4 separate regions of the Homo sapiens genome follow, and all the other regions are linked to region 4. The links are contacts of gene promoters, found by promoter capture Hi-C in human tissues and cell types (Jung and others, 2019). All regions are on one chromosome and are shown on one strand. The core of a region is centred on a gene start or on the middle of the fragment in contact, and the rest is flanking DNA. Distances in the headings are between cores, read along the strand shown.

Region 1 (2,700 bases), core at 79-2,578, 37 kb before region 4:
ATTGGTGGAGACTGAAAGAGGCCAAAGAAGTCCAGGGAGCCCAGCTGCTGCTGAGCTGCTCCTTCCCTTCCCAGTGAGCTCCAGGCAGATGTGGGGCACACGGGATGGGCAGGGAGACGGCAGGCAAGCTGCTCCGTGCCAGGTGGTGCCTGGAGGACGGGCTCTGAGTGAGGTGTGTCGTGATGGGCGTGGGGACTGAGGACACCAGGGACTTTGGGTCAGCTGCTCTCCCAGGTGCCCTGGTGTTGTCTTCATTTCCTATTCAGTGGGTCCTTATTGCCTTCTTCCCATGACTGTGTCTCTGTCCCCTTCTTTTTGTTCCTCTTTGTGAACAAGAAGCAGGATTGTTGCACTGTTTCCCTCCGTAGGCTTGGATGCTGGAAAGATCAAGCAGGTGGGGATCATCTGTGGGCAGGAGAGCACCCGGCGGATCGGGGATTACAAGGTTAAATATGGCTACACGGACATTGACCTTCTCAGGTAGGTGCCAGCCCAGCTGTCCCCTGTGCTTGAAAGAACAGAAGGTCCTAGGGAGGCCAAGATGGGAGGATTGATTGTGCTGGGAGGTCGAGGCTGCAGTGAGCCGTGATCATGCCACTGCACTCCAGCCTGGGCAACAGAGCAAGACCCTGTCTCAAAAAAAAAAAAAGGTCCAGAAGGCCTGGGGCAGACGCAGACTGTAGGCCCCAGTGACACATGTGCAGTCAAAGTAGTTCAGAGCCCAGGCAAACTCTTTCTTCCTCCCAGAGAGGTTGGTTTGGGGCAGGTTAGGCCCAGCAGGCCAGGAGTTGGGTACTGTAGAAACAAGGGGTGGAGTTGAGCTGGGCCAAAGCTGAGGGCAGCAACTAGTGCCACAAGGGAGGCAGGCGAAGCCAGAGTTGGCATGGGATGGACAGACCAGGCCTGTTGGTCGGTGCTGCCCATGGCTGCAGCAGAGGTGTGAGATGAATTGTGTATTTCCCTCTGAGGACACCTCCTCTGGACATCACCCCAGCGCTCATGGCAGCAGAATGGGCAGTCATCATCACACGGCCAAGCCCGTGCAGAGCTCTGGATGTACCTTCTTTTATGCATTCCCTACTCAGGCCCCCTGAGGCAGTCACTGCCATCACCCCAGAGGCATTTTCATAAGAGGAAACTGAGGCATGGAGACATCAGGCAGCCCACCCTGGTCATGGGGCTTGAACACAGGCAGCCTGAATTTGGAATATGTGTCCTTAACCGTCAGGTAACCTGTATGTGAAGTGTTGGTTGGGGAGATAGGCGCGTCCACTTGCCTGATGCCAATCATGGCATTTAATGTCATGGCCAAGGCTGTTCCCAAAGCCAGAGTTCCCATCAACAGAGGCCTCATGGCCTAGAAAGTGCATGTTAGAACTCCTTGCCCTCACGCGATCTAGGCAACTGAGTGTCGAATATTTGTCCCTAATTTGTGGGGTCCTGTTTCCTTTATTGGAAAGGACATCCATAGTTTAAAACACTTCAGACAGTGCTGGGGTCTATACAGGGAAAGGAAGTCTTCCTACACCACACTCTAGGACTCGCTGCCTCCCCAGAGGCTGCTAGTTTCTTGTGTATCCTGTTCCAAAATCTGGCCACATGCACATATACACACACGGTGTCTCTGTGTGTGTGTGTGTGTGTGTGTGTGTGTGTGTGTGTGTGTGTTTGTCCTGGGGGCCAAGGAGCCTGCATCCTTTTCGGAACACCCAGGTGCTGGGGTGTCTCTCTCTGTGTGTGTGTGTGTGTGTGTGTGTGTGTGTGTGTGTGTGTGTGTTTGTCCTGGGGGCCAAGGAGCCTGCATCCTTTTCGGAACACCCAGGTGCTGGTGTGTCCTGCCCCTCCCAGGTGCTGGTGTGTCCTGCCCCTCCCAGGTGCTGGTGTGTCCTGCCCCTCCCAGGTGCTGGTGTGTCCTGCTCCTCCTTCTTTTCTTTTTTTTTAAACCCTAAGGTGTAATTGGCATATGCAAAGCTGTGCCTATTTCATGCATACAACTTGATGAGTTTGGAGATATGTTTACACACCCCTCACTGCTATCATTAAAGGTGCTCATCTCTTCATTCTGCTCACCTGCAGTTAGGATGGCGTCATTCTGTGTAATAACCGCTCCCAGGGCCCAGCCCTGGCTGACGGACCCTCAGGAAGTTCTTAGACTCCGCTCTTCTGGATGGTGTTGCCAGCACCTCCTCATGTACTTACCTCCATGTGCACACACATGTGTTGGCATGTAATGACTCTGACCCCAGTCACTAAAGGATCCCTGTACACATGGAGAGTATCTGGGGTCTCAGCCATCTGTTTTGGAAAAGCCCAAATAATAGCAAGAGGCTTGGGCTCCCAGGGATAATCCCTCCCTCTTGCTGTCCCACACCCTGCCCTGCCACCACCGGACCCTGTGAACAGGACGTATGGAACAGGCCAGAATCGGGCATTCAACCTTTGCCATCCTGACCTCAGCTGCCTGCCAGTTTTTATGGCCTTCCAAGCTTTATTTTAGCAGCTGCTGTAAGACGATGGGTCTATTTTTCTGACCTTCTCTTTCTCTCTTTTCTTTTCCTCTTGTCAGGTTGTGTGTTTTATTTTACATTCTGGGCATAGATTCCTCCCCTCAGCAGAATCAGCATCCACCTGCGGGCTGTTCCAAGCAAAGCTCTTCCTTCCACTCTCTCCCCATAGCGCTGCCAAGTCCAAACCAATCAT
Region 2 (2,700 bases), core at 140-2,639, 34 kb after region 4:
GGGAGAGGGCGCAGGCCGTGACGTCTGGGTGGCCCTTATGACTGCCAAGACTGCTGTGGCCAGGAGGTGCCACTGGAGTGTGCGTGGTGGTCCCTGGGTAGCGGGGGAGGGTAGGCAGGATTGGGGAAGAGAGCCTGCAGGATCTCACCAGGCAGCCTCTGGGGGGTGGCCAGGCCGGGAAAAAGCCCACCATTTGGCATCCCTGGGCCTTGGGCTCCGTGTGGGAGACCGGCCTGCCAGGAGGACCCAGGGCTCTGTAAGTAGATGCATTTGGGTCCAGGAGGAAGCGTGGACACCTCGTAGGGAAGAGATGAAAAAGCCACATCCTACCAAGAGGAGGTGCTGAGGGATGCTTTGCAGTGTAGTCAGAAGTGCTGGGCCAGATGGAGACAGAACTCCACCCCCTGCCGCAAAGGACAGGACCTGGCTGCCCTGGGATGCTGGTGCCTGAGTCTGTCTCTGTGCACCCCTCAGGCTGTCGTGAGCCAACACAGGGGCCTGGAGAACCCTGAGGAGCTTTCCTTTTGGTTCTAAACCCGGCGTTGACGTTCCTTCTCCCTTTCACATTGCTGTCTTGTGGACTGTGCACTCAGTCCTTGCAAGGCCAAGAGTCCAGTTGTAGGTGTGGCCTTGAGGGGGAAGTGGGGAGGAGAAGACTGACATGAGTCCTCTGCACGGATCCGTCTCTCCCTCCCCATCACCCCTTCCTTCTGACACCCAGTCCCAGCTGTCCACTGTCCCAGGTGCAGTCACTGTTGTGCCCTTCCTTGGGGCAGGCTGGCTGGGGGCCAGAAAGGGGCCATGAGGCTGTCTTGGGCCCAAAAAGGGACAATAAGGCCAGTTGTATGCTTCCTGTTCCTCATAGCTTGCCTTGGTGGGGATGTCTTTGTTGGAGTTGATTCTGAGCTGCTGTGATTAGGAGACCCTGAAATACAGTGGTTTAAGCAAGATGGAAGCTTGTTTCTAATTAGTCTAGATTGAGATGGCCCAGAGCTGGTAGGGCAGCTCTGCGTTTCTTCATACGCACCTTCCAATTCTGGGTACACAGCGGCTGCTCCAGCGCCCACCCTCCTGTGTGCATCCAAGCCTGGGGGAAGCAGAAATAGACAAGAGGGCACACCCACTTTTTGCTAAAGGCATGAGCCAGAATTGGCAGGCTCACCTCTGCTGGCCTCTCATTGGCTGGGACTCAGTCACATGGCCACAAGCAGCTGCTAGGGAACCTGGGAAGTGTAGTCTTCAGCGGGGCCGCCATGTGCCTGGCCTCACCTTGGGAGTTATCTTATTGATGGAGGAGAAGAGAATGGATATGGGGGACCAGTAGCATCTCTGGGAGAGGGGGAGGGAGCAGCAATAACTCAGTCGTCGGATCCAGCTCTCATTGTCAGAGTTTCCGGAACAGCTTGCTCCTGTTTCCCTCACTGTGCAGCCCAGGGCTGGGGGCAGTGAGGAGCTTGCAGCTCTGTGGGAAGGGGAAACACCCCCTCCCCTCGGCCCCTCAGACGCTACCCAATGATGCCGGTTTGCAGAGTTGGCCTGTGGAATGGCTCATGTTTGTGCGTGTGTGTGTGTATATTTATGGGCATGGGTGCATGCTTGGTGTGTATTTGTACATGTCTGTATTGCTGTGTCCCTGTAAATACATGCTTGTGTATGGATGGAAGAGGCCAGGCCCAGGCCTGGCCTCTTCCTCGGGCCTGTGGCCACACCTCCTGCAGCTCCCCAAAATGACTGAGGCAGAAAGCCCTTGGGGAGCCTAGAAAGCAAAGCTAAAGGGGATGCAGGGTCTGTCTGTCTGTCTGTCTTTCAGTCTGAGGAATGAGAATCCTGACCTGAGGGCTGTGCAGCTGAGAGCCCACTACCTCCCCAGCCCCTCTCGGCCCCAGCCGCATCATCCCACCTGTCCCCTCCCCCCCACCTCCAGTGGGGCTTTCTCCAGATGTCTTATGGTTGGGGGTTTCCTGATGGGCCAGGAGAGGAGGGCATCTTCTTGCGACAGCACTGTCTGGGTTAAGTGCCCAGTGAGGGCATGGTGTGGGGAGCTGGCCTCAGAGGAGCCGCTGGTGGGCAAGCGTGAAGTGGGCTGAGGGGCTCTGAGCCACTTTGCTCCCATCTAGGGGACTGCCCCCCATGGAACTCCTTTGAAGTCACAGCAGCCTTCCTTTCTGTTTGCTCTTGGGGCTGAGAGGTGGCTCAAACACTCGGGGTCCCTATGGCTCTGGGTCAATCTAGGCCAGGCTGCACCCCATGGACAGGGAGTCTCAGGGCTCCTGATCATGCCCAGGCCCTGGCCTGGGGCCTCCCTCCTTGGCAGCTTTCCCACCCCCACGCCCCTGGCATCCTCAGTTGCTATGGGATGCCCCTCCAGGGCACCAGCTCAGGGCTAAGCGAAGGAAGATAGGAGCAGCTCAGAGCTGCCAGGCTCTGCCTTCCTCACAGACCTGGTGGGGCAGGTCCTGTTCACAGCAGCAGGAGTGAAGGCCTGGCCATCGGTGGAGAGGGCAGCTGTCAGAGGGCTGGGGGCCAGGGCACAGGATTGAAGAGTTTCACATATCATCACAGCATACACTGGGAATTTGGTGGGGGCAGAAGAACCCAGGGCCACTCCCTCAATATGAAGGGAAACCAAGCTGAATGTGACCACCGGCACACTGCTGCCATGTCCCATGTCCACCTTTCTCCCCGGGAATAACTGGCCCT
Region 3 (2,700 bases), core at 19-2,518, 53 kb after region 4:
GCCCTGAGTGAGGAGGTGCCCTTCTGGCCCTGCTGCATCACACTCAAGGATCATTTAGAGGGCACATGTGTCCAGTGGCTCTCCCTATTGTAAATATTTCAGTAAAGAGTTAAAACAAGAGACATTGTTATGTGTGGGGAAATGTATAGTGTTCTGCTTTTCTCCTGATTGGGTTATCTTGCCTCTGCTAAGTTTGGTTTGTCCCGTCTCTATCTCAGTGGCCACTGGAGAGAGGGTGTCTGCTGTTCTTCCCTGATTCCACCTGTAAATACAAACGTTATCTCTTCTCCCTGGCTTTGCTCTGTGCATTTGAGGTGGGAATGTACTCGGTTTGGCGAAATAGTCTTTCATGTCCCTAAACCTGAAGCCTCTATTGACTGTAAATGGTAGAGAAAAGGAAAGTACCCCCAAGGTGTGAACTCTAGTTAGGGAAAAAAATATTTTTGGGCTTGACAGTGACTCTTAGTTAACTCAATTACTGGAATAATAGAGTCAGAAATATTTCTTTGTTTTTCAGGGAGGTAGAGGCAGGAGCGTAAGATGTGGAAGCTAGAAATATCCACTTGTAACACGGTATTAGAAGGAATGTTATTTTACATGGAAGATAATCCTCAGTGATCCTTTTTTTTTTTTCTTCAAGACGGAGTCTTGCTCTGTCACCCAGGCTGGAGTGCAATGGTGATTCTCCTGCCTTGGCCTCCCGAGTAGCTGGGATTACAGGCATGCACCATCATGCCTGGCTAATTTTTTGTATTTTTAGTAGAGATGGGGTTTCACTATGTTGGCCAGGCTGGTCTTGAACTTCCGACCTCGTGATCCACCCACCTTGGCCTCCCAAAGTGCTGGGATTACAGGTGTGAGCCACCGCGCCCGGCTGATCCTGTCTCTTGATGTCCTCCCATTCTGGGACGCTAAATGGTATCCGACTTTGTTTTCCCTTATGTCATTCCTGGTGTGAAGGACACGGGATATTATAGAGGAGAGTGGCAGCATGCTGAGTGGTATTCCGATCTGAATCACACTGTCATCCTTTATCCGGCTCAGGCCCAGGGTTCTAACTCCACAGGAATGGGCTTATCTGGGGACTGCTGCTGCTGCAGTCAGGAAGACTCCACTGTAGTCGGGAGCAGCACTGGCCTGAGCACTGCACTGGAGGCCAGCCTCTTCGCTGTGGTGCCCAAGTACTTCTTTCAGGTGAACACATTTTTAGTTCCTCTTCCAGGTGTAATCGAGCAGATGGGTGTTTTGTTTTCCAGTTAGCAGTCGAGTCTGCAGTGTCCTTTGTGTTTTTTATCTCCCGGTATACCAGTCTCACCTAAGCTTTTATAGTCCCCGCTGCGCACTTCTCTCAAGAAACAAAGCATTTGTCAAGTAGGAGGGTCCATGGAGGGACCTTTCTCACATATGGACGTGTAGTTTCAGTTCCGTGTGCAGGATGTTTGGTACATGTTGTTTTGTGTTTTGTTTGCAGAAAGTAGATAGAATAAGGGCCGATTTGATTTGGGTAAGGGTGAGCATGGTACAGTAGAAAAAGCGTCATACAAGGAGTGGGGAGTCCTGAGTTCTGGAGATGACTGTGTCGTTTTGTTTTCGTTTTTGAGACGGAGTTTAGCTCTTGTTACCCAGGCTAGAGTGCAATCGTGTGATCTCGGCTCACTGCAACCTCCGCCTTCCGGGTTCAAGGGATTCTCCTGTCTCAGCCTCCTGAGAAGCTGGGATTACAGGCATGCGCTGTCACATCTGGCTAATTTTATATTTTTAGTAGTGACGGGGTTTCTCCATGTTGGCCAGGCTTGTCTTGAACTCCTGATCTCAGGTGATCCGCCTGCCTCGGCCTCCCAAAGTGCTGGGATTACAGGCGTGAGTCACCGTGCCCGGCCCATTTTGTTTTTTTATTTTTATTTTTAAGAGATGGGGTCTCACTCTGTCACTGAGGCTAGAGTGCAGTGGCGTGATCATAGCTCACTGTAGCCTCAAACTCCTGGGCTCAAGCATTCCTCCTGCCTCAGCCTCCTAAGTAGATAGGACTACAGGCATGTGCCACCATGCTCAATTTATTTTTATCTTTTACTTTTGGAGATGGGGGTCTTGCCATGTTGCTCAGGTTGGTCTTGAACTTCTGGCCACAAGCGATCTTCCCACCTCAGCCTCCCGGGTAGCTAGGATTATAGGCATGAGCCACTGCGCCTGTACCATTTCTTTTCTCTGAGACCTGACACATCACCTCCCTATGTTGAGAACCTCTGTGTGAGGTGATGTGATGGCATTAGATGAGCTCCAAGGTCCCGCTCAGATCTAACCTTCCACAAAGTAGTGGCCAAAGGACGAAGAAATGACCTGCATTATAACCCCTGTGATGGGGTAGAGAGACCTGCTTTATAACCTCTGTGAAGGGGTAGAGAGACCTGCATTATAACCCCTGTGAAGGGGTAGAGACCTGCATTATAACCCCTGTGAAGGGGTAGAGACCTGCTTTATAACCCCTGTGAAGGGGTAGAGACCTGCATTATAACCCCTGTGAAGGGGTAGAGACCTGCATTATAACATTGTGAAGGGGTAGAGACCTGCATTTTAACATTGTAAAGGGGCAGAGAGAGGGCTGTTTTGCATGGTGGGGTACTTCATTGTAATACAAAAAAGGACTGACACTGAGCTTAATGCTTTCTTAATCTCACTAGCTTGGGGAAAGTTTTCCTACAA
Region 4 (2,700 bases), core at 148-2,647:
ACTAGGAATGGATCTTACACTTTCAAATGGTTGGGAAAACATCAAAAAATGTTTCTGGACACGTGAAAATGACACGAAATTCAAATTTTTGTGTCCATAAAGTTTTATTGGAACACCGCCAGGCTCATTCTTTTACGTATTGTCTATGGTTGATTTTATGCTACGATGGCAGAGTTGAGTAGTTGGGACAGAGACCATATGGCTGGCAAAGCCTAAAAGATTTACAATCAATCTCTTAAAGCAAATGGTTTGCCCACCCTTGCTTAGAGAGAGCCTCCAGGAAGAAAAGAGCAGTGAGGGTGACGTTGAAGAAGGGGGCAAGACTAGGTCACCAGGGGCTCCCTGTGCCCCGCCCAGGCACTGAACTTAAGCTGAGGGCAAGTGGGAGCCATTGAAGGTGCAGGCAGGAGAGTGACCTGCTCAAGTGAATGTTGGAGTAGGATCACTCTGCCTCCTCAGCAAGGATGGATGAAGCTGGGCACGGAGGCACCTGGAGCAGGTAGACCAGCCCTAGGCAGCCCGGATGGTTCAGCAAAGGCCTCTGGGACTATTCTGGAGCACATTCGCTGGGATATAGAATAGGTAGCGCATCCCTGCACCTTCGACGATGGCGGCGCAGAGATGTCTGCTGCGTACCCACAATGCCTTGTGCCTCGCACCGCGGGAGGAAGTGGCTGCTCTGTAGGCCCCAGAACGGAACCACTTGAAAGGCGGGAAACACGTGGGGGACGCCTCTGAGCCCTGAGAGGAATGGCCTAGAGCAAGGCCACGAGGAGCCAGGGCACGACACGGTGGGCCCTCGGAGAACCGCTGGTGGGCAAGTGGCAGGAGAGTAGGCTCAAGAGGGTTGGCAGGGCCGACCGGGCCTAGGGTGGCCGGGTGAGGGGGGCGGGGGAGGGGAGGCCCCCCCAGTTACCCCAGGAGTGCGCAGGTGGCTTCGGGCATGTGAGGGACGGAGGGGGTCGGACGGAAGGACACAGGCCGGTGTACAGCGGTCACCCACGCCCCAAGCAGACACACAGACTCTGCAGACACCGTAACAGGCCCGGCACCGTGCACACATCACAGGCCCAGGCCTCTGCACATGGTCACAGATGCCTATGCGAAATCCCGGCCCAGGTTCACGCGGGCACAGGCGCATCCACGCACACACCGCAACACGGATCTGCACGTCCATGCACACACAGGCACAGACTCGGGCACACGGAGTCACACCGACCCGGGCACGCTGCGGAACGCACCCGTCCACGCATACACAGAACGGGACTTGCTGCCCCGCACGCACACCAGGCCCGCACTCCGAACTACCCGCATTCCCCGCACACGCCCCCGCGCAGGCCGCCCCGGGCCGTGGGCCGGCGCACGCACGGTCACAGGAGGGGCGCGCGCACACTCGCACTCACACACACTCGCTCGCACACGCACACACTCGATCCAGCACGCGCGGGCGGCGCGGGGCGGCGGCGGCCGGAGTCTGCGGTGCGAGGCGCCCCCGGCCCGGCGCGGCGGCGGAGCCCGGCTGGCGGGGGAGGGGAGGGGGTTGCGGAGGGGGCGGGGTGGGGGCCGGAGCCGCTTGAGCCGGCGGGAGCGGGCACCCCTGCGCGCCGCGCTCGGCCTCGCCTCCGCGCCCCCCGCGCGCCCGCCGCGGTCCCTCCCCCGCGCCCGTCCGCTCGCCGGGCCCCCGCCGCCGCCCCGGGGTGCAGCCGAGCGGCCGCGCCGGGTCCCCGGGACGGGGTGGAAGTGGGGGTGGGGGGAGGGGATCGGGGCCGGGCCGGGGCCGCGCTGCCTGCGATGCCGGGCGCCCGCCGCAGCCGCTGCCGCCGGAGCCCGGGATGGGGCGAGAGGCTGCGGCGGACGCCAGCATCTCCCCGCCGGGGACCCCGGGGGCCGCGGAGCCGCCGCCGCCGCTGCTGCCGCCGTTGCTGAGACCCAGCGGGCGATGGGTGAGTTGACCCCGGCGTCCTGGGGGGCGCCGCGGCCCCTCTATCCCCGCGCTGCCCGCCCTCCCGCGCTGCGCTTGGCGCCCCCCGCCCGGCTCCGCGGCCCACTCCCCGAGCGTGACCTTAGGGGGCGGGCGCGGGCGCACTGGGGCTGGGGGCCCGGAGGCCGCGGTGGGGGCGGGATGCCGGGGAAGCCGCTCGGCGCGGGCCCCCTCCCCCTACCCGCCGCTCCTCCGAGCTCCCCGGTCCCCGGAGGGCAGAGCCTCAGCGCCCGACCCCCTCCCACGGCCGGGCGGGGGACGTCCCCGAGGCGCGGGGCTCGAGCCGTGCTTTGTGCGCGGCACCCCCCAGCCTCCGGCGCGGCTCCCCCACAACCTCCGGCGCGGCGCGGGGCTGGGGTGGGAGGCCTCCGCGCCCGCCTTCCCCACCCCCGACCCCAGACTGCGGCGGCGGCAGCCGAGGCCCAAGCGCAGTCGGGGGCTGGGCGGGTGCGGGGGCTGCGGCCGTAGCTACCCCTGGGGACCAGGCAGAGGCAAATGTGGAGAGGGCCCCCGGCCATTTACCGGGGTGGGGGCCCCCGGCTCCTTGCATTGCTCTGCCCAGGGCGGGGGAGGGAACCTGGCTGAGGGAGGGCGCTATAAATATCTGCAAATAGTGAGTTCTGGAACCGGGAGTGGGGAGGGGAGTGCGCCTGGGTGTGTGTATGGTGGGGTTCCTGAGCTGGGGTGCAGCAGGAAGGGATGCCGCGCGGCCAGACCTA

What was found. Contacts are between HindIII fragments. The study calls those that stand out against the background at their distance.
Region 1: a fragment that was not itself captured here is called in contact with the fragment with the promoter of MGAT3 in region 4 in 5 of the 25 tissues and cell types used here (IMR-90 fibroblasts, mesenchymal stem cells, mesendoderm cells and 2 more).
Region 2: a contact is called between a fragment that was not itself captured here and the fragment with the promoter of MGAT3 in region 4, in 7 of the 25 tissues and cell types used here (H1 embryonic stem cells, IMR-90 fibroblasts, heart left ventricle and 4 more).
Region 3: a fragment that was not itself captured here is called in contact with the fragment with the promoter of MGAT3 in region 4 in 5 of the 25 tissues and cell types used here (IMR-90 fibroblasts, bladder, dorsolateral prefrontal cortex and 2 more).

The regions. Positions count from the first base shown.
Region 1 is chr22:39,419,151-39,421,850 of GRCh38, forward strand. TAB1 (TGF-beta activated kinase 1 (MAP3K7) binding protein 1) reads left to right here. Exons shown (of 11, transcript NM_006116.3): 7 at 369-480; 8 at 2,677-2,700. Among named protein-coding and RNA genes, the nearest start is that of TAB1, 21 kb to the left of the region's middle. The HindIII fragment of the contact is 5,458 bases long and covers 1-2,700 here.
Region 2 is chr22:39,489,149-39,491,848 of GRCh38, forward strand. MGAT3 (beta-1,4-mannosyl-glycoprotein 4-beta-N-acetylglucosaminyltransferase) reads left to right here. Exons shown (of 2, transcript NM_002409.5): 2 at 1-2,700. Among named protein-coding and RNA genes, the nearest start is that of MIEF1, 12 kb to the right of the region's middle. RefSeq lists an enhancer at 1,036-1,330. The HindIII fragment of the contact is 7,379 bases long and covers 1-2,700 here.
Region 3 is chr22:39,508,378-39,511,077 of GRCh38, forward strand. The region is part of intron 2 of MIEF1 (mitochondrial elongation factor 1); the gene reads left to right. Among named protein-coding and RNA genes, the nearest start is that of MIURF, 5.5 kb to the left of the region's middle. RefSeq lists an enhancer at 2,199-2,700. The HindIII fragment of the contact is 6,788 bases long and covers 1-2,700 here.
Region 4 is chr22:39,455,615-39,458,314 of GRCh38, forward strand. MGAT3 (beta-1,4-mannosyl-glycoprotein 4-beta-N-acetylglucosaminyltransferase) reads left to right here and starts at 1,398. Exons shown (of 2, transcript NM_002409.5): 1 at 1,398-1,943. RefSeq lists silencers at 1,324-1,383, 2,114-2,383, 2,394-2,523. The HindIII fragment of the contact is 12,980 bases long and covers 1-2,700 here.